6 separate regions of the Homo sapiens genome follow, and regions 2, 3, 4, 5 and 6 are each linked to region 1. The links are contacts of gene promoters, found by promoter capture Hi-C in blood cells and fetal thymus (Javierre and others, 2016). All regions are on one chromosome and are shown on one strand. Each heading gives the region's core, a stretch centred on a gene start or on the middle of the fragment in contact. The rest is flanking DNA. Distances are from core to core; before and after follow the strand shown.

Region 1 (2,824 bases), core at 188-2,687:
ACATCTATGCAATATACTATAAAGGTGCCAAAAATAAAGGCCGATCTACTGCAATCAAAAGATGTCAGATATTCTACATGACAAACTGCTTAACAGTATGGATAATGCCATGTATATTAAAGGCGGGGAGGGGGACGTTAATATATACAGAGGGGGAAAGTGGAATGACACTTATTTCTGAAAGATTATTAGAGGCTATGTACTACTTCTGAAATACTGGGACTTTATTTAATGAATATGTGTTACTTTGCAGTCAGATGAAAAAATTTAAACAAGTAAAACTGGCCTTTGGTGTGAAAAACAATGGAAAATACAAATTATCTTTATCTATTTTTCGGTTTCTAGTACCAAAAAAGTCACACTTCAAAATTCTCCATGATGCTTTACTCTTAGCAACGGATCTCCATTCAAAATACTCATAATATCTAGTAGGGTAAATGAACATCTAAATAGCCTAATACAAGAAAGTTAGCAACTTTCCTCACGTACAAATTTCAAAAATGGTACCTATTCAAAAATTGACTTCGATCTATTTCTCAAATTGACTTTTTAATTAACCAAAACCATTATCCAAAGGGCTAATGTTCAAACTTAACAAACACTGAAAATTTCTATGCTTGTAGTATGAGGGGTCTAAAAAAAGATTTACGTTCGCCTCTGCCCCACAACTGGCCTGTTAAAAAGGCTGTTAATGGAAATAACTAATCACTGGCCCTAAAATACCACATTCCAGCTGGTCTTCTTTTGATACAGCAAGCTAAGTTTGGAGATCTTTACATGCATTTCTCACCTTGTTTGTCCTAAGGAAAGGCTCTGCATCCCTCCAGAAAGGCTGGAGAACAGCTATCTCTGGAAATGACACACACACACAAAAAAAAGGCAAAATATTTCAGGCCTTCCTAATACAAAATAAGAGATCGATCCCAGCTAACGTTCTCGTTGCATTATGTTCTCGTGAGATGCATTACCTCTTGCAAACAACATTTCTCAGACATACAGAAAAGAAAACGGCAAGTACATGCCTACATATGATGGGAAAAGGTAGCGGAATCACGAATACGTTTTGTACCAAAGCTAAGTGCTTCATATATATTGTCTCGCTTTACTCCCCACAACAATTTAAAAGGTAGGCATAAGCCTTAAAATTACAAAATCTGAAACAGCGCCGAGCTCCCATACTAGCCTGCCTTCGCTAGCTGAAGCATTAGGGTTCGAACCCAGGTGGGTCTTTCTTAACTCAAAACCAAGGTAATTCCACACCGAAGGCTCTTTCCATCCCTCTTCCTCCTCCAAAGACAAATCTGCAAAGGGCTGCACTGTACAGCAGTCACCCACACCCACTTCTTAACAAAAAGAAAGGAAAGCACAGCCTCACCACCTTCCCAATCTCACCCTGAACTGCACCCATCCACTGTAGTTCGCTTTTACTTCCGCCTCTGGGGTCCGGAGCGGCTAGGAGGAGCGGAAGTGGAAAAGACTAACTTCCGGCCTCGGGTCGCGCGCAGAGGTGATGTCGTTGGTCCTGCGCCCCCTCGTGGCGGTACTTCAGCCCTTCGCAGCCCGACGCTAGGGGCCTGGCAGGGGGCAGCAAGAGACCGCGGTGAGCGCGGGGTATTGAACGCCAAAGAAGGGGTTTGGAGGGTGGGGTGGGGCCTGGGACTCCCAGTCGCCTGGGCAGATGTCCGTGGGGAACTGTAAGGCATCTTATAGGGATCCTACAGGGGGCATCCACTGCCGGCCGACGACACGTGGTGGAAAAGTAGCTATTATTTACATGCGTGTTGCAGTTTTTGATAATGCGATTGCTGCTGCTAATGTGACTAACGCGATGCCGATGAACATCTCGGCGTTTTTTGGTGCAGGATAAGCGGGTGTAGACTCTGTCTGTTTAGTCCCAGATTCTCCTCCTTTAATGAACTACCGTGGAAATCCTGGAGTGTCACTGCTGGTCTGAATTCAGCATCCGCCTTCAGGCTGGAAATCAATTCTAGTATACTTCGATTTCCTTACTTGCAGTTCGAATTCAAATATGATTCTTTTGACATTGTGAGGGTTTGCGCTATTTAAAGAATGGAGGCAACCGAAACCTCATCTCCACAGTGGATGCATTTTTGCTCCCTCCCGAGGCGTTGCCTTAAGCCACGCGGTCCTGTCAGCCTCACCTGCCTAGTGATGGTGACAATGGAAGAGATAAAGCTTCAATTCAAGGCACTTCTCCTGTGACCATCAAAAGAAAGATAATATCTACATTAATGAATTAATTGTGTCTGTCGAGTTATCCTCAGGAGACGATGGTGATTTGGTCCTTAAAAAAACACAGGATCAACAGGATTGACCCTGAATTCTACAAAGAGGAAAAATTTCAGGCATTACTAACTCCTCCATGTACAAGCCTAATGATGTAATTTTCTGGCCGGGCGCGATGGCTCATGCCTGTAATCCCAGCACTTTGGGAGGCCAAGGCGGGAGGATGGCTTGAGGCCAGGAGTTCGAGACCAGCCTGGCCAACATGGTGAAACCCCATCTCTACAAAAAGTACAAACATTAGCCAGGCGTGGTCACAGGTGCCTGTAGTCCCAGCTACTTGGGAGGCTAAGGTGGGAGAATCACCTGAGCCTGGGAGGTTGAGGCTGCAGTGAGCCGTGATTGTGCCACTACACTCTAGCCTGGGTGACACAGTGAACCTTGTCTCAAGAAAGAAAAAGAATTTTCTTTATCCCATTTCTTTCTCCTTTTTCTTTTTTTTTTTTTTTTTTCCTTTAGACGGAGTCTCACTCTGTTGCCAGGCTGGAGTGCAATGGCGCGATCTCGGCTCACTACAACC
Region 2 (2,824 bases), core at 116-2,615, 790 kb before region 1:
CCTCAAATTTATTGATATCATTTTCATTTGATTAAGAAAATATTTACAAATTTAGTGAATGTTCAGCCTCAAAATAAAGATGAATATAAGAAGTCACTGGAGAAAAACACTATTCGCTTTTAGCGTTTTTGTTTTGTTTTTTTGCAGCTTTATTGCCCAGGCTGCAGTGGCATGATCATGGCTCACTACAGCCTTGACCTCCAGGGCTCAAGCAATCCTCCCACCTCAGCCTCCCAAGTAGCTGGGACTATAAGTACCTACCACCATCCCTAGCTAAGAAAGAGATGATTTTAACAACAATGTCATCCCTAGTATCCACTGTTACCCATTCCACCTTCTACTTATTTGATTTTCATGAAACAATATATCCCTCTCTTCATTTGGGGAGACTTTATAATACTGGGGCTCAATTTCTATTCATTGTGAGGATAGAGCTCCTAGAGTATTCTTATTAACACCTGCATCTAACATGTTGTGTACATAGTGGTCTTACTGACCTAAGAATATACCATCAATAAATAGTATTGACATAGCAAAGAAAAAAACAGAAGAGAGGAAGGAAGGTTGCACAAGCTAATTATTGACACAAATAGCAATTAAATGCTTGGAGCCAGCATCATCTTTGGTAGCATAGGAACCAGGTTCATCCCTAGTTCCACTACTGAGCTGTGTAATATTCAGGAAGCTCATTAACCTCTCTGAGCCTCAGCTTTTCAATTTGTATAACCTCTTGGCAGGATTATTGTTTAATCTTTAAGTAAGGTAAGGGTATAAATTACTGGGTACCTTACTAGACACAGTCCTTTGGCAAATATTAGTTTACCTCCCTTCTCTTTTTCAGTGCTCCCTGTCCTACCTCCCAGTGAGAGCGTTTCATTCAGCTCCGAATAAGCAATTACTCTTGAACATGGATACCACTCCTACATAGAGTCCCCAGACATCTTCTGGAATATTCTTTTTACCTTCTTAGGGGCACATGCTGAACTGCTTGGTCACCAAAACTTTTTTTTTTTAATGCTTGTTGTGTAAAAACAAGATTTCCCCTTCCTCAACAGTTTCTTCCTAAGAGTGGTGTGTTAACAAATAGCGTTGTACATAATTAATGCAATACTGTGATTTGTTCTTAGTCTTGAAACACATTTTATTAGACAGTTTTCCAAATTAGATTGAAAGAAACCCATAGACAGGTCACTGTTACCAAGTTCAAATGTCTATTGGACCTTTTCTTGTAATATAACCTGTACACAAACTGATGGATAACCCTAAGCCAGATGTGTGGGATCTGGGCATCCATTTGGCCCAGTCATTTCAGAGGTGAGACTAAAAGTAATTATCCTTGCTGTTTACAGCATTTAAAGGGGGAAGGTAGATGAATTATCTCTCAAAACACAATGAATAAAGGCTGGGAGCATGGCCATGCCATATCTGTTGTGGTGAGGAAAATGGGAAGGGGATTCTGAAAGTAACTGGCCTTTTTCTTTTAGACACTGAGCCACATCCATACCCTAAGGCACAGATCCCATGTTAAACGGTTATTTCCATCATGGCAGTGACATTTACTTTAACAACAGATTTCATTATGTCTTTAACAACAACAAAAATGCACTGAAAAGCCTGAAACACACACATACACAACTCCCAACACAATTATTTTTCTGTCTTCTCTGAAAGAATATTTTAAAATCATTTCAACATCTTTGGGATTTCAGAAAAATCTAGTATTGGTTTACAATGGAAGTCTCATAGAGTTTATATATATGTGTGTGTGTGTGTGTGTGTGTGGTTATTATTACTCAGACTATAAATGAGACAAATGAATAGAAATATTAAAGGGATCAATATTCTGGCCCTCATTATATTGTTATACAGCATATCTTTGTGTATCTCTATGTGAATTCTCTGCTAGTCCTCAGCTGTATTTAATCCCTCAAGACTTGATATACAAACATAATGCCAAATAGAGAACTTCCCTTAAATTATTCAAATCTCCCCATAAGTGATTTCCCACTCTTCCTGCAATAGAAAACATTTGATCATAAATTCAATTAAATCAGCCATCATCTTTGTGATGTTTGTCCAGCTAAATCCTTTAGTGACTAAACCAATAAACATACCAGCTGTGAGTGTGCATGTGTGTGTGTGAGTGTGTGTTTATGGCACAACTATTGCAAAAGAATCGATTTGAAGTAAAGATGAAGGGTAGTTCTCATTTCTTAGGCCAGATTTTAACTACTTCACTGAAGCCAGGGCTTAAAAGATTAAACTTTTAGGGATAAAATCATGTGTACTTCTTTAAATGCTTTGGCTTTTATTTGCTAATTTAGAACTGAGTTTTAATAAGTTTTAGATCAAAACTGATGTACTTTGGAGATGTTAGGAAAAGGCATCAAACCACGTCAACCATTCTTCCTTCTCTTTCTTCCCCAGCCTCTCCTCCCTAGTTAAAACAAAGAAAAAATGACTGTCGACATACTTTTAAGTTTCTCAGGGAAAACGGCATGATAGGACTATATTACTGTTTATAATTTCTTATATGTCTGTCGGCTGAAGAGGTAAAGTTTATCAGAGGCTTATAAATGTTGATTGCTTCTCATCTTGATTCTAAAGCCTTTTAGACACGCAGATATACCCAACCTCCTCCCCTCTTTTTCATCTTACCTTTACTAATGATCCTATTTGGATATAACTGAACCCTATTTATGCATCTTCACATATGTGTATATCCATGTGGCCTGTAGAGGGCAGCATGCTCTGAGGGGAAAAAAAAAAAAAAACAGGCAACTGTTTATCTCCGTAAAATATGAGATACGCAGCTATATATATA
Region 3 (2,824 bases), core at 102-2,601, 650 kb after region 1:
AGGCAGATTGCTTGAGCCCAGGAGTTCGAGACCAGACTGGCCAACATGGCCAGTATTTTGTATTTTGTAAAAATACAAAAATCAAGCTGGGTGTGTTGGTGCATTCCTGTAGTTCCAGCTACTTGGGAGGCCGAGGTAGGAGAATCAGTTGAGCCCAGGAGGTGGAGGTTGCAGTGAGTCTTATGGGCCACTACACTCCATCCTGGGTGATGGAGTGAGACTCTGTCTCAAAAGAAAAAAAAAGTTGGGTTTGGAGTAAGTTTTCCATTTCCACTGCTTACTAGCTTCATGATCTTGGGCAAGTTATTTAACCTGTTTAAGTTTTTCCTCTTCCATAAAATCTGTATGGTAAAGGGACCTATCTACTTCTTGGGGTTGTATGAGGATGAAATGAGATAATCCATATAAAGGTGTATCCTGGTCAGAATACAGTAAACATTAGCTATTGTGGTTTCTACTGTTACTCCTTTCTGCAAACTGACTCAGTTTTTTCCAGCCTTCTATGTGACATAATCCTCTGCTCCAAAAAGGCTGAAGTATGCAGTGCCTTATCTATTTTTATATTGATCTCTGTTCTCCTCACTAATCTGCTCTGAGACCCATCCTTCTCTGGCTATTACAATTCATATTTTCTTTCTTGTGCTATCAGTAGAACTCATAGTCTACCACAAAAGCACTTGATTTTACTGGGTCTTGTGTGGTTTTCTCAGGCTGCTGTTATATGTAATTTCACTTTCTTAACCAACCTGCCAGCTCCCATGGTTAGGGAAACATTTTCTAGAGCTTTTCTGTTTTCTATAGTACGTAGTCTGGTAGGCTCTGAAGTAAGACATCTGGATTTGAATCCTTGCTCCTCAAACCAGACTATGAGCATGGCTAAGTTACATAATGTCCCAGTGCTTCAGTTTCATTACAGTGTTGTTTTTAGGTGTTAATTCAAGTGAAGCGCTTATGACATTGCCTGGCATATGGTGAAATCTCAACAAGTATTTATCATTATCCCTGGATATAGAAGTAGTTAAATTTATTGTAGTACCTGGCCAGTCATAGATGTTTAGTAAGTATTTATTGACTGAATAACATTCTTCTCATTTTCTCATTGTTATATATTTAATAGTTCCTCAGTTATTGAATGTTTTATGATTATAGTATCTTTCATCTGATTTTTAAGGCATGAATCCCATCACAGAAATACATAGTGCTGAAAAAGCTTAATTGGGTATGAACCAACTCTTCAGGGCCACAGAGAAAAGCTCCATTTTATGACCACAGTTTACATACTTCAGGCCAACCAGCTGGGTCCTTAGTTGTTTAAAGACTAGGGAACAAAGAGGCTCAAAGGGAAGGAAAGGGGAGGCTCTACGAGTACATACTCGATCAATGGGATGAATACTGTCCACAAGCAGAGCATCTTAATTCCCAATCCACAGGATATATATACACGTAGCAAAAGCTGGACTTTGCTCTTTAGATCCAGATATTGCATACTAGTTAAGCTTTCATCCCAAGTAAATCTAGATTAAAAAACTATGCTATCTTGTATTTCCATTCAGGACAGCCAAGAGAAAAATGGATGAACAGAGTTTCTTCGGTGGATTGCTTCATGTGTGCTATGCTCCAGAATTTGAAACAGTTGAAGAAACTAGAAAAAAACTACAAATGCGGAAGGCATATGTAGTAAAAACTACTGAAAATAAAGGTATGGAAAGCATATTGCTAAATGCCTCCTGTGTGTCAGGCACTCTGCCAGGTGTGTCATCATGCAATTCCCAGTCTAGTGGTAGGAGAGGCAAGTAAACCATCACAGTATTCAGTAACTGTGAACCACAGGGTTCTCTGCAGCACACTACATAATCTGGGTTGAGAAGGGAGAAATATTGGTTCATAGAAGACTTCCTATAGTATGTGAGAAGTGGCTGAATTTTAAAGGATAAGTAGACGTTAACTAAATGGGAGAGGAAAAGATGGAAAGGCAAGCCAGGCAAGATGTTTAAATGTTTAGAGGAATAAATGAGCATCATGCATTTAAGGAACTTTAATTAATACAGTATAACCAAAGCCCAAAGGTTTCAGTGAGAGATAAGTTTAGAAAAGTGGGTAAGAAGTGAATCATGGAGGGCCTTGTGTCCCATGCTAAGGAATTAAGGCTTTGACCAGAATGCAGTGAGAAGCAGTTATGATTTGCAGTTGTCAAATCATATAGTTGTCACTGCTAATCATGGAGAAGTTCTACTTTTGACCAGCAATTGGCTAAATGCCCCCACATGCCTGTTCTACCACATAGTGATGGAGAGAAATAAAGTGGGAAAACTCTTGGAAAACTTACTCAGAAATCTGGTAAGAGAGCTGTTGAGAATCCCCAGTCATCTGCAGACATTGAACTCTAACTTGTAAGATAAGTAAATAAATAGCACCAGGAAAACTTGTATGTTTGTGTGGCAAAGGAAATTATAAAATATTAATGTGGAGAAAGACCTTTGACATTATCTGACCTGGGTCCTAATTTTTCTGGGTGAGGAAACTAAGTCTCAGAAAGTTTGTGACCTGCCTATATTATTAGAGATGAATTAAAGACAAAATAAGGGTTAAAACCCAAGCTTTGGACTCTGTCCAGAGTTTACTTTTTAACTGCTTTAATCATCTCAGTGTTGGTGACAGCCTAGGATTATCTTCATTATTTGCTCCCCTTCCTCTTAAGACCTTTTTGCTGTGCTGCTGACCTCAGAATTAAACTATGACTTGTTTGGCCTTGGACACTTTAGTTAAGCTCTCTTTCATCTGCAGCATTCTAGCCTCTACAAGATGCATTTGTATACGTGGTCTT
Region 4 (2,824 bases), core at 85-2,584, 620 kb before region 1:
CATTTTATACTCTACGACCTAAGAGTGCTTATAGCACAATGGGTGGTTGGTATCTATTAAACAAATGAATGTGTAAATGAATGATAGAAAGTAATTGGTGAAAAGTACGCTGAGATAGAGTCTGATCACAGGCAAAAAAAAAAAAAAAATGGAAGAATTAATAGTCCAATGGCACTTTTCTTATAAAACTGAATTACATAGTCAAACCATCATTTAAAATAATCTTACAAGGAAAACAACATTAATGTGCGTCTGTTGAGACGGATTATGCTGTTTTGGAATTAGGAAGAGAATGTGCAGTTCGCTGTTTGCTTTCAGACTGTTTGTTTGTTTTGTTTATTAAACTGGCGTCTCCAGCTCTGCAGCCCAGCCTGTGGAACCTAAATGGCCCAGGTCCCAGGAGTTCCCATCGGAGCCGTGGGCGTCCCCAGGGTTTAGAAAGGCTCCCCAGGGGCCCAAGCTGCCGGCGAGTGCAGCTCCCGCCGGCGCCACCTCTGCGGTCTGGAGCGGCGAGGACGATCCCAGAGAGGCGCCCCCACTGCCTCGGTCGTCGGGTTCTTAAGTTTTTCTCTCCAAAAATTTAATGGATAGTTTTCTTTTGCTTCTGTTTCTGACTTGATTAAAGAGGCGGAAAAAAAGGAGTTTGACTCCAAGAAGAATGATAGTAGCAGAAGGCGCATCTGGCTTTACTTTCCAAATTCCATCAAAGTTTGTGTTTTGTTTCATTTGACAGCGATCCCGTGAACGTCTCCTCTGGGGAAATGGCGCGACCAAAGCCCGCCAAGCCCAGCCTGCGAACTGGAGGATTTATTAATGTAATATGTTAAACAAAACCTCGACAGACACAAACTCAAAGGAAACCGTGCGCTCCTTAAGTCAAAGGCATCTGTTCTGGAAGCAGAACCCGGTTTGCTGTTGGTAACCAGCGTTAAGAGCAGGATTTTTAAACATGATAATGGATAAAATAAAAGAAAAGCGAAGTCCCGCGGTCCTCTGACTCCTATTCATTATCTCCAGCAGCATATGGGACCATTCTCCTACGTATCCTCGCCTTTTTCTTCTGAAAAAGCAAAAGCAACCAAGCCTGTCCCGCTTCAGAGCAATCCTACTCTTTGTGCCTGAGTAGTGCCACCACCACTACTTCCTCCTCCTCCCGCCTCCTCCTACCCCGCCCTCCTGCCGCTGGCTTTCGCTCTGGCGAGGAGGCGGCCGGCTCCCTTTGCGCCGGGAAGCCGGAGCCGCGATTGGGCGACGGTCCCTGAGCCTCCAGTTCTGCGTCGGTTTCAAGGCTCCTCCCTCCTGGTGAAAGACAGACTACGGGGCGCCTGGAAACCGGTCCGAGGGCGCGCGAGGCAGAGGAGAGGGAGCGAGTTGAGGGATTGACACAAATGGTCAGGCGGCGGCGGCGGAGAAGGAGGCGGAGGCGCAGGGGGGAGCCGAGCCCGCTGGGCTGCGGAGAGTTGCGCTCTCTACGGGGCCGCGGCCACTAGCGCGGCGCCGCCAGCCGGGAGCCAGCGAGCCGAGGGCCAGGAAGGCGGGACACGACCCCGGCGCGCCCTAGCCACCCGGGTTCTCCCCGCCGCCCGCGCTTCATGAATCGCAAGTTTCCGCGGCGGCGGCGGCTGCGGTACGCAGAACAGGAGCCGGGGGAGCGGGCCGAAAGCGGCTTGGGCTCGACGGAGGGCACCCGCGCAGAGGTCTCCCTGGCCGCAGGGGGAGCCGCCGCCGGCCGTGCCCCTGGCAGCCCCAGCGGAGCGGCGCCAAGAGAGGAGCCGAGAAAGTATGGCTGAGGAGGAGGCGCCTAAGAAGTCCCGGGCCGCCGGCGGTGGCGCGAGCTGGGAACTTTGTGCCGGGGCGCTCTCGGCCCGGCTGGCGGAGGAGGGCAGCGGGGACGCCGGTGGCCGCCGCCGCCCGCCAGTTGACCCCCGGCGATTGGCGCGCCAGCTGCTGCTGCTGCTTTGGCTGCTGGAGGCTCCGCTGCTGCTGGGGGTCCGGGCCCAGGCGGCGGGCCAGGGGCCAGGCCAGGGGCCCGGGCCGGGGCAGCAACCGCCGCCGCCGCCTCAGCAGCAACAGAGCGGGCAGCAGTACAACGGCGAGCGGGGCATCTCCGTCCCGGACCACGGCTATTGCCAGCCCATCTCCATCCCGCTGTGCACGGACATCGCGTACAACCAGACCATCATGCCCAACCTGCTGGGCCACACGAACCAGGAGGACGCGGGCCTGGAGGTGCACCAGTTCTACCCTCTAGTGAAAGTGCAGTGTTCCGCTGAGCTCAAGTTCTTCCTGTGCTCCATGTACGCGCCCGTGTGCACCGTGCTAGAGCAGGCGCTGCCGCCCTGCCGCTCCCTGTGCGAGCGCGCGCGCCAGGGCTGCGAGGCGCTCATGAACAAGTTCGGCTTCCAGTGGCCAGACACGCTCAAGTGTGAGAAGTTCCCGGTGCACGGCGCCGGCGAGCTGTGCGTGGGCCAGAACACGTCCGACAAGGGCACCCCGACGCCCTCGCTGCTTCCAGAGTTCTGGACCAGCAACCCTCAGCACGGCGGCGGAGGGCACCGTGGCGGCTTCCCGGGGGGCGCCGGCGCGTCGGAGCGAGGCAAGTTCTCCTGCCCGCGCGCCCTCAAGGTGCCCTCCTACCTCAACTACCACTTCCTGGGGGAGAAGGACTGCGGCGCACCTTGTGAGCCGACCAAGGTGTATGGGCTCATGTACTTCGGGCCCGAGGAGCTGCGCTTCTCGCGCACCTGGATTGGCATTTGGTCAGTGCTGTGCTGCGCCTCCACGCTCTTCACGGTGCTTACGTACCTGGTGGACATGCGGCGCT
Region 5 (2,824 bases), core at 223-2,722, 580 kb after region 1:
ACTTCTGCCATATGCTGTTGGGTCACACAGACCAACTCTGGTACAGTGTGAACACAGGACCACACAAGGGCGTGAATTCCAAGGGCAGAGACCACTAGGGACCACCTCAGAGGCACAGAGGGACACCCTATCCAGCTGGTGGCCAATGTAAATTAACATAGCTTTTTAGAATAGCAATATGTATCTATAATCTTAAAAGTATTAAAAGTACTTCTTGATCCAGTAATTTCATTTCTAAGAATCCATGCTAAGAGGATTTAAAATGTGGACCAAAAAATGGGTATAAAAAGAAGTTGTTAACAGTATTTAAAGTTGTGAAAAACCAGAAACAATCTAAAGGTCCAACAATAGGAAAATGAATTTTGATATTTTTCTAATAGAATTTTATGCTGTCATCAGAAATACCATTTACAAATAATTTTTAATAACGCAAAAAAAAGTTTATAAAATGTTTAGTGTAAAACCTGGACACAACTACATAATGATTCTGATTTTGTAAAAAAAAAAAACAAAAACACACACATATACACATGCATACATATGCATATAAAGAAAACTGGAACAAACAAAATAACAAGCATAGTTGGAATTACAGTCATTTTAATATTCTTTATGCTTTTAAAAATTTTGAAGTTTGTATTACTAGCATCCACTACTTACGTAGTCAGGAAAAAAATACAACTTTAAAATAGATATTTAGGTCCAAAGATGGTAATCTAAATGGTGTTACAGGCTGAATGTGTGCCTGATCCCCATGCCCCAAGTTCATATGTTAAAGCCCTGGCCCCCAAGGCAATGGTATTAGGGGAGTAGGGCCTTTGGGAGGTAATCAGATTTCTACGAGGTCATGAGGGTGGAGCCCGCATAGTGGAATTAGTGTCCTTTTAGGAAGAGGAGAACAGACCAAAGCCTTCCTTTCTCTCCTCACTATGTAAGAAGACAGCCAGAAGGTGGCCACAGCCAGGAAGAGAGCTCTCACCAGAACCCAAATCTGCTAGCACCTTGCTCTTGGGTTCTCAGCATCCAGAACTGTGAGAAATGAATGTGTGTTGTTTAAACCACTCAGGCTACGGTATTTTGTTGCAGCAGCCCAAGCTGACAGAGATAGAAACAACACAAGGACCCATCAGCAGACGAATGGATGATCAAAACGTGGTGAGGTCGTGCAGTGGGATATTATTCAGCCGTAGAAGGAATGAAATTCTGATACATGCTATAATGATGAACCTTGAAAACATGTTAATGGAAATAAGCCAAACTTAAAAGGACAAATATTGTATAATTCCACTTATATGAGTTAGTTACCTAGAATAGGCAAATTATGTCATAGATACAGAACATTAGAGGTTACCAGGGTTGTGGGAAGAGGGGTATTGTGGGTACAAATTTTCGGTTTGGAGTGATTTTGAAAAAATTCTGGAAATGGGTAGTGACAGTAGTCAACATGATGAATGTACTTAATGACACTAAATTGTACACTTAAAAATGGTTAATACTGGGCTGGCGCAGTGGCTCATGGCTGTAAATCCCAGAACTTTGGGAGGCCAAGACAGGCGGATCATGAGGTCAGGAGATTGAGACCATTCTGGCTAACATGGTGAAACCCTGTCTCTACTAAAAAATAAAAACAAATAAAAAAAAAATTAGCCGGGCATGGTGGCAGGCACCTGTAGTCCCAGCTACTCGGGAGGCTGAGGCAGGAGAATGGTGTGACCTGGGAGTCGGAGCTTGCAGTGAGCTGAGATCGCGCCACTGCACTCCAGCCTGGGCAACAGAGCCAGATTCCGTCTCAAAAAAAAAAAAAAAAAGGTTGATACCTGGGTGCGGTGGCTCATGCCTGTAATTTCAGCACTTTGGGAGGCCAAGGCAGGCAGATCAGTTGAGGTCAAGAGTTAAGGACCAGCCTGGCCAACGTGGCGAAACCCCATCTCTATTAAAAATACAAAAATTAGTCGAGTGTGGTGGTGGGTGCCTGTAGTCCCAGCTGCTGGGAGGATGAGGCCTAGGAATTGCTTGAACCCAGGAGGCAGAGGTTGCAGTGAGTTGAGATTGCGCCACTGCACTCCAGCCTGGGGGACAGAGCGAGACTTAGTCTCAAAAAAAAGGTTAAAATTGTAAGTTTTGTTATGCATATTTTACCATAATCTTTAAAAAATAGATATATAGGAGATAAAGTCAACAGAATTTAATAACCAGTTGTAAATAGAGACTGAGTGAGGAGGATGAATTAAGGAAGACATTGAGTACAACTTTTTGGTAGGTGAAAAACTCTTAAAAAAATACGTGGGCAAAGATCCTACTTGATTCTTATAATTTAAAAATCTCCCAGTTAGTAAACAAGGCTAGGTGGAGATTTGCATGTGATGTGAGGTGTGTGTTCTGTTTTGTAATGTGAGGACTGTGAGCCATCTCCTGGACTTGAATATCCATTAGATAATTGAAAATACGGATTTGAGAACTCAGGAGACGTGCAATGCAGTAACAAAACTCTGCACCTAGTTGATTTCTGTCTCCTAATTTAATGCTTTTATGGGACAAACTGTTAGGCAGGTGGGCAAGATGGACAGCCATATTTTTGTGGGTTTCTGGCCTGTGGGCCAGCCTCAGTGCTCACTCTGAGGTCATGTCCAAACTTAGAACACATTCAGGCCTACCACAGTCAAGGCTCCCTTTCTCAACTCTAGTCCTCTGCACAAATATCCGAAGCCTAGAAATAATAATCATCTGTCCTTGTGTCTTGCATTATGAAAGCCTAGGAAAGGGCCTTGGGAATTAAGAAGAATGGAAAAACTGGTCTAACTGCTGCATGCTTCAGCTTGCAGGG
Region 6 (2,824 bases), core at 124-2,623, 540 kb after region 1:
AAAAAAAGTAAAATATCTCATTCATATTTGGGTTATGTGGATTACGTGTCAAAATGGTAATGCTGCATATATATATATATATATATATATATATATATGGTTATGAGTTATATGGTTAAATAAAATATACTATCTAAAGAATGTCACCTGTCCCTTTTGACTTTTTACTGTAGTTACTAGAAAATTTAAGATTATACATATGACTTGCATTTGTGGCTCACATTATACTTCTCTTGGACAACCCAGGTCTGGAGAGCAGTAAATCTGGCTTAGGACAATGAAACCCTAAGGCTTGCTCCTTGTTGGCAGAAAGAAGATGTGACATCATTAAGGAAGGATAACTGGGGTGAGGTAAATTCAGGTGGGGAGCCCTGTCAGCTCTGACCAAGCCCAAGAGAGAGCAGGTTCCAAGTCACACCTGTGGTGGGTTGTCAGCTTCAGAGGCCCACAGAGCAGGCAGTCACTCTGGGGTCCAGGTGACAGTCATTCAGGAACAATGGTGGACGGTAGCATCCCCACCCCATCCTCGCCCTGTCCCCTTCTTGGCCAGTGCCAAGAGCCCACACAAACCACAGTCACATCCCATATTCCCAGACCCCACTTTAGAGAGAAAGGCAGGGAGACAGGGAGGCTGAGCAGCTGAGTGTTTTGTATCCACATGACACTATCACCCAGCCCAAAGGAACTGCTTCAACTGTGAGGTCCAATTACAGTTAAACCAAATGGACATTTAGTTAATTTTCTCCCTGCTAAGTGGACAGTTGGGGTTCATGAAAAAACTCAAGACTCATTGTGTTCCTACATTTCCTCTACACTGCTTGGGTTGTGGTTGGACTGAATTTTGCCATCTCCAATACATAATAAGGGAGAAGAATGTGGTTGACCATGGGTTCAGCTGCCTTTCAAAGTCATCAATGTGAATACCATCTTTAAAATATTTTCTGGCCGGGCATAGTGGCTCATGCCTGTAATCCTAGCAGTTTTGGAGGTGAGGAGGGAGAATCACTTGAGCCTAGGAATTCAAGACCAGCCTGGGCAACATAAGGAGAACCCTACTCTACAAAATATTTAAAAATTAGCCAGGTGTGGTGGCAAATGCTTGTAGTCCCAGCTACTTGGGAGGCTGAGATGGGAGGATCACTTGAGCCCTGGAAGCAGAGGCTGCAATGAGCCATGTCTGCACCACTGCACTCCAGCCTGGGTGACAGGGCAAGAGCCTGTCTCAAAAATAAATAAATAAACAAACAATAAAATAAAATGCTTTGCAATGCAATATTCACTCCCCTGAACCCAGGTCATAGGTTACCTGTGACTTAAAATACTAATGGGCTTTTTAAAAAGTATTCTGGCAGTTTAGAGGATTTTTTTTTTTGAGACATAGTCTCATTCTGTCACCAGGCTGGAGTGCAGTGGCACGATCTCGGTTCACTGCAACCTCCGCCTCCGGGGTTCAAGCGATTCTCCTGCCTCAGCCTCCTGAGTAGATGGGACTACAGGCGCACGCCACCACACCCAGCTGATTTTTGTATTTTTAGTAGAGACGGGGTTTTACCATGTTGGCCAGGATGGTCTCGATCTCTTGACCTTGTGATCCGCCCGCCTTGGCTTCCCGAAAGTGCTGGGATTACAGGCATGAGCCACCACACCTGGCCAGCTTAGAGGATTTTAAATGGCTTAAGGAGTCTGTGCATTCAACAGTGGTCCACCTTACTCATTGCAAGGAAGCCTATCTATTTACAAATAGGCTGGTTTCTACAAATGGCCAGCTTTAAGATGGCAAATACTGATCTCATCATGAATTAAAGTTGAATCTCTAACTTTTGATACAGTTTAACTAAATATCTAGTAGATCCTTCTGTCTCTCTGACACTTCTTTTTCCACTAGGAAAATGCTAAAATTCTGCATGTGTGTAAGATCTTCCTTATGATGTGTGCCAAACAGCTTGGGAAATGCACTCCCTTCTGTGTAAGTTATTTACCTAACTAAGGCCAGCCCATGCTTTACAAAAGGAAATTGACCAGGACTGAAAGGAGGGGCCGCAGGAAATGCTGCATCAGATCTCAAGAACACCCTATGGTTGGACAGAGGCTGAGCCATCTCACAATTCAACTGAAATAATCTCAAATTATGAGATGTTCTCTGGGACATCTTGGCATTTTGGAGCCTGGTAAACTGTACAACTTTTAAATTTTTAAATTCCCTGTATCAGTCAGGGCCCCAGCAAGGAACAGATGACACACTCAAATAGGATGATTTGAGGAGGGTTTGTTTGTAAAGGAACTCTCCACAGAAGTGTCTGCAGGCAACCAGAACGGGTAGTGAAGTAAGCTAGTCTGGCAGCCAGCCAAAGAGCTGTTACCAGCCCCAGGCCCAAAGAGGAAAGGAGAGGGGGCAGTTACAGGAGTCCAGAAGGTTGTGTTGAGTTGGCCACCTTGTGACAGGCAGTGAATCTTGCTAAGGCACACCGCTAGCCCAAGAGGAACTTGTCATTGGGAGGAAGCCATAGGAATCAGTACCTCTCTCTTCCTGCCTCCTGTCTCCAGCTGGAACTCCCCATTGGCCAAAGCCCATGGAAAGCCCTAAGGCAAGAGGGCCCTGGAGGTGAGACCTCCAGGACTGAGAGAGCAGGGGAAGGCATAGGAAAATGGGTTGGGGACAAAGGGACATACCTGGCACACTCCCTTCAATAATACCTACTTTTGTTTGTAGAGCAAACAAAGTGAGTGCTAGCATCACCAGAGTGGTTGCAGCTGTTGCCCATGACACTTCCTCGGCCTTGTAGAAACTAAAACCAGAGACTGTGATTATTGTTCACATACATTC

The links. Contacts are between HindIII fragments. The CHiCAGO score rates a contact against its expected background, and 5 or more counts as called.
Region 2: a contact is called between a fragment that was not itself captured here and the fragment with the promoter of MTERF1 in region 1, in 7 of 17 cell types (naive CD4 T cells, non-activated CD4 T cells, total CD4 T cells and 4 more). The highest score is 18.6, in naive CD4 T cells.
Region 3: a fragment that was not itself captured here is called in contact with the fragment with the promoter of MTERF1 in region 1 in 2 of 17 cell types (non-activated CD4 T cells and fetal thymus); the score reaches 7.4 in non-activated CD4 T cells.
Region 4: the fragment with the promoter of FZD1 here is called in contact with the fragment with the promoter of MTERF1 in region 1 in 1 of 17 cell types (monocytes); the score reaches 6.2 in monocytes.
Region 5: a fragment that was not itself captured here is called in contact with the fragment with the promoter of MTERF1 in region 1 in 2 of 17 cell types (megakaryocytes and fetal thymus); the score reaches 8.5 in megakaryocytes.
Region 6: a contact is called between a fragment that was not itself captured here and the fragment with the promoter of MTERF1 in region 1, in 1 of 17 cell types (fetal thymus). The highest score is 5.8, in fetal thymus.

Annotation. Positions count from the first base shown.
Region 1 is chr7:91,879,265-91,882,088 of GRCh38, forward strand. It overlaps MTERF1 (mitochondrial transcription termination factor 1), which reads right to left and starts at 1,438. Exons shown (of 3, transcript NM_006980.5): 1 at 1,393-1,438; 2 at 791-849. The coding sequence starts at 819. LOC112267986 (a long non-coding RNA gene) reads left to right here and starts at 1,538. Exons shown (of 2, transcript XR_002956514.2): 1 at 1,538-1,600. The HindIII fragment of the contact is 3,297 bases long and covers 1-2,194 here.
Region 2 is chr7:91,086,812-91,089,635 of GRCh38, forward strand. The region is part of intron 12 of CDK14 (cyclin dependent kinase 14); the gene reads left to right. Among named protein-coding and RNA genes, the nearest start is that of FZD1, 180 kb to the right of the region's middle. The HindIII fragment of the contact is 5,564 bases long and covers 1-2,824 here.
Region 3 is chr7:92,530,851-92,533,674 of GRCh38, forward strand. It overlaps RBM48 (RNA binding motif protein 48), which reads left to right. Exons shown (of 5, transcript NM_032120.4): 3 at 1,554-1,699. Among named protein-coding and RNA genes, the nearest start is that of RBM48, 3.5 kb to the left of the region's middle. The HindIII fragment of the contact is 286 bases long and covers 1,209-1,494 here.
Region 4 is chr7:91,263,099-91,265,922 of GRCh38, forward strand. It overlaps FZD1 (frizzled class receptor 1), which reads left to right and starts at 1,335. Exons shown (of 1, transcript NM_003505.2): 1 at 1,335-2,824. The coding sequence starts at 1,783. RefSeq lists an enhancer at 1,120-1,299 and silencers at 1,420-1,929, 2,020-2,079. The HindIII fragment of the contact is 4,268 bases long and covers 1-2,824 here.
Region 5 is chr7:92,461,872-92,464,695 of GRCh38, forward strand. It overlaps a transcript of GATAD1 not described here. Among named protein-coding and RNA genes, the nearest start is that of ERVW-1, 15 kb to the right of the region's middle. The HindIII fragment of the contact is 3,225 bases long and covers 1-2,824 here.
Region 6 is chr7:92,419,498-92,422,321 of GRCh38, forward strand. It overlaps the pseudogene TMBIM7P. Among named protein-coding and RNA genes, the nearest start is that of GATAD1, 27 kb to the right of the region's middle. The HindIII fragment of the contact is 3,885 bases long and covers 1-2,824 here.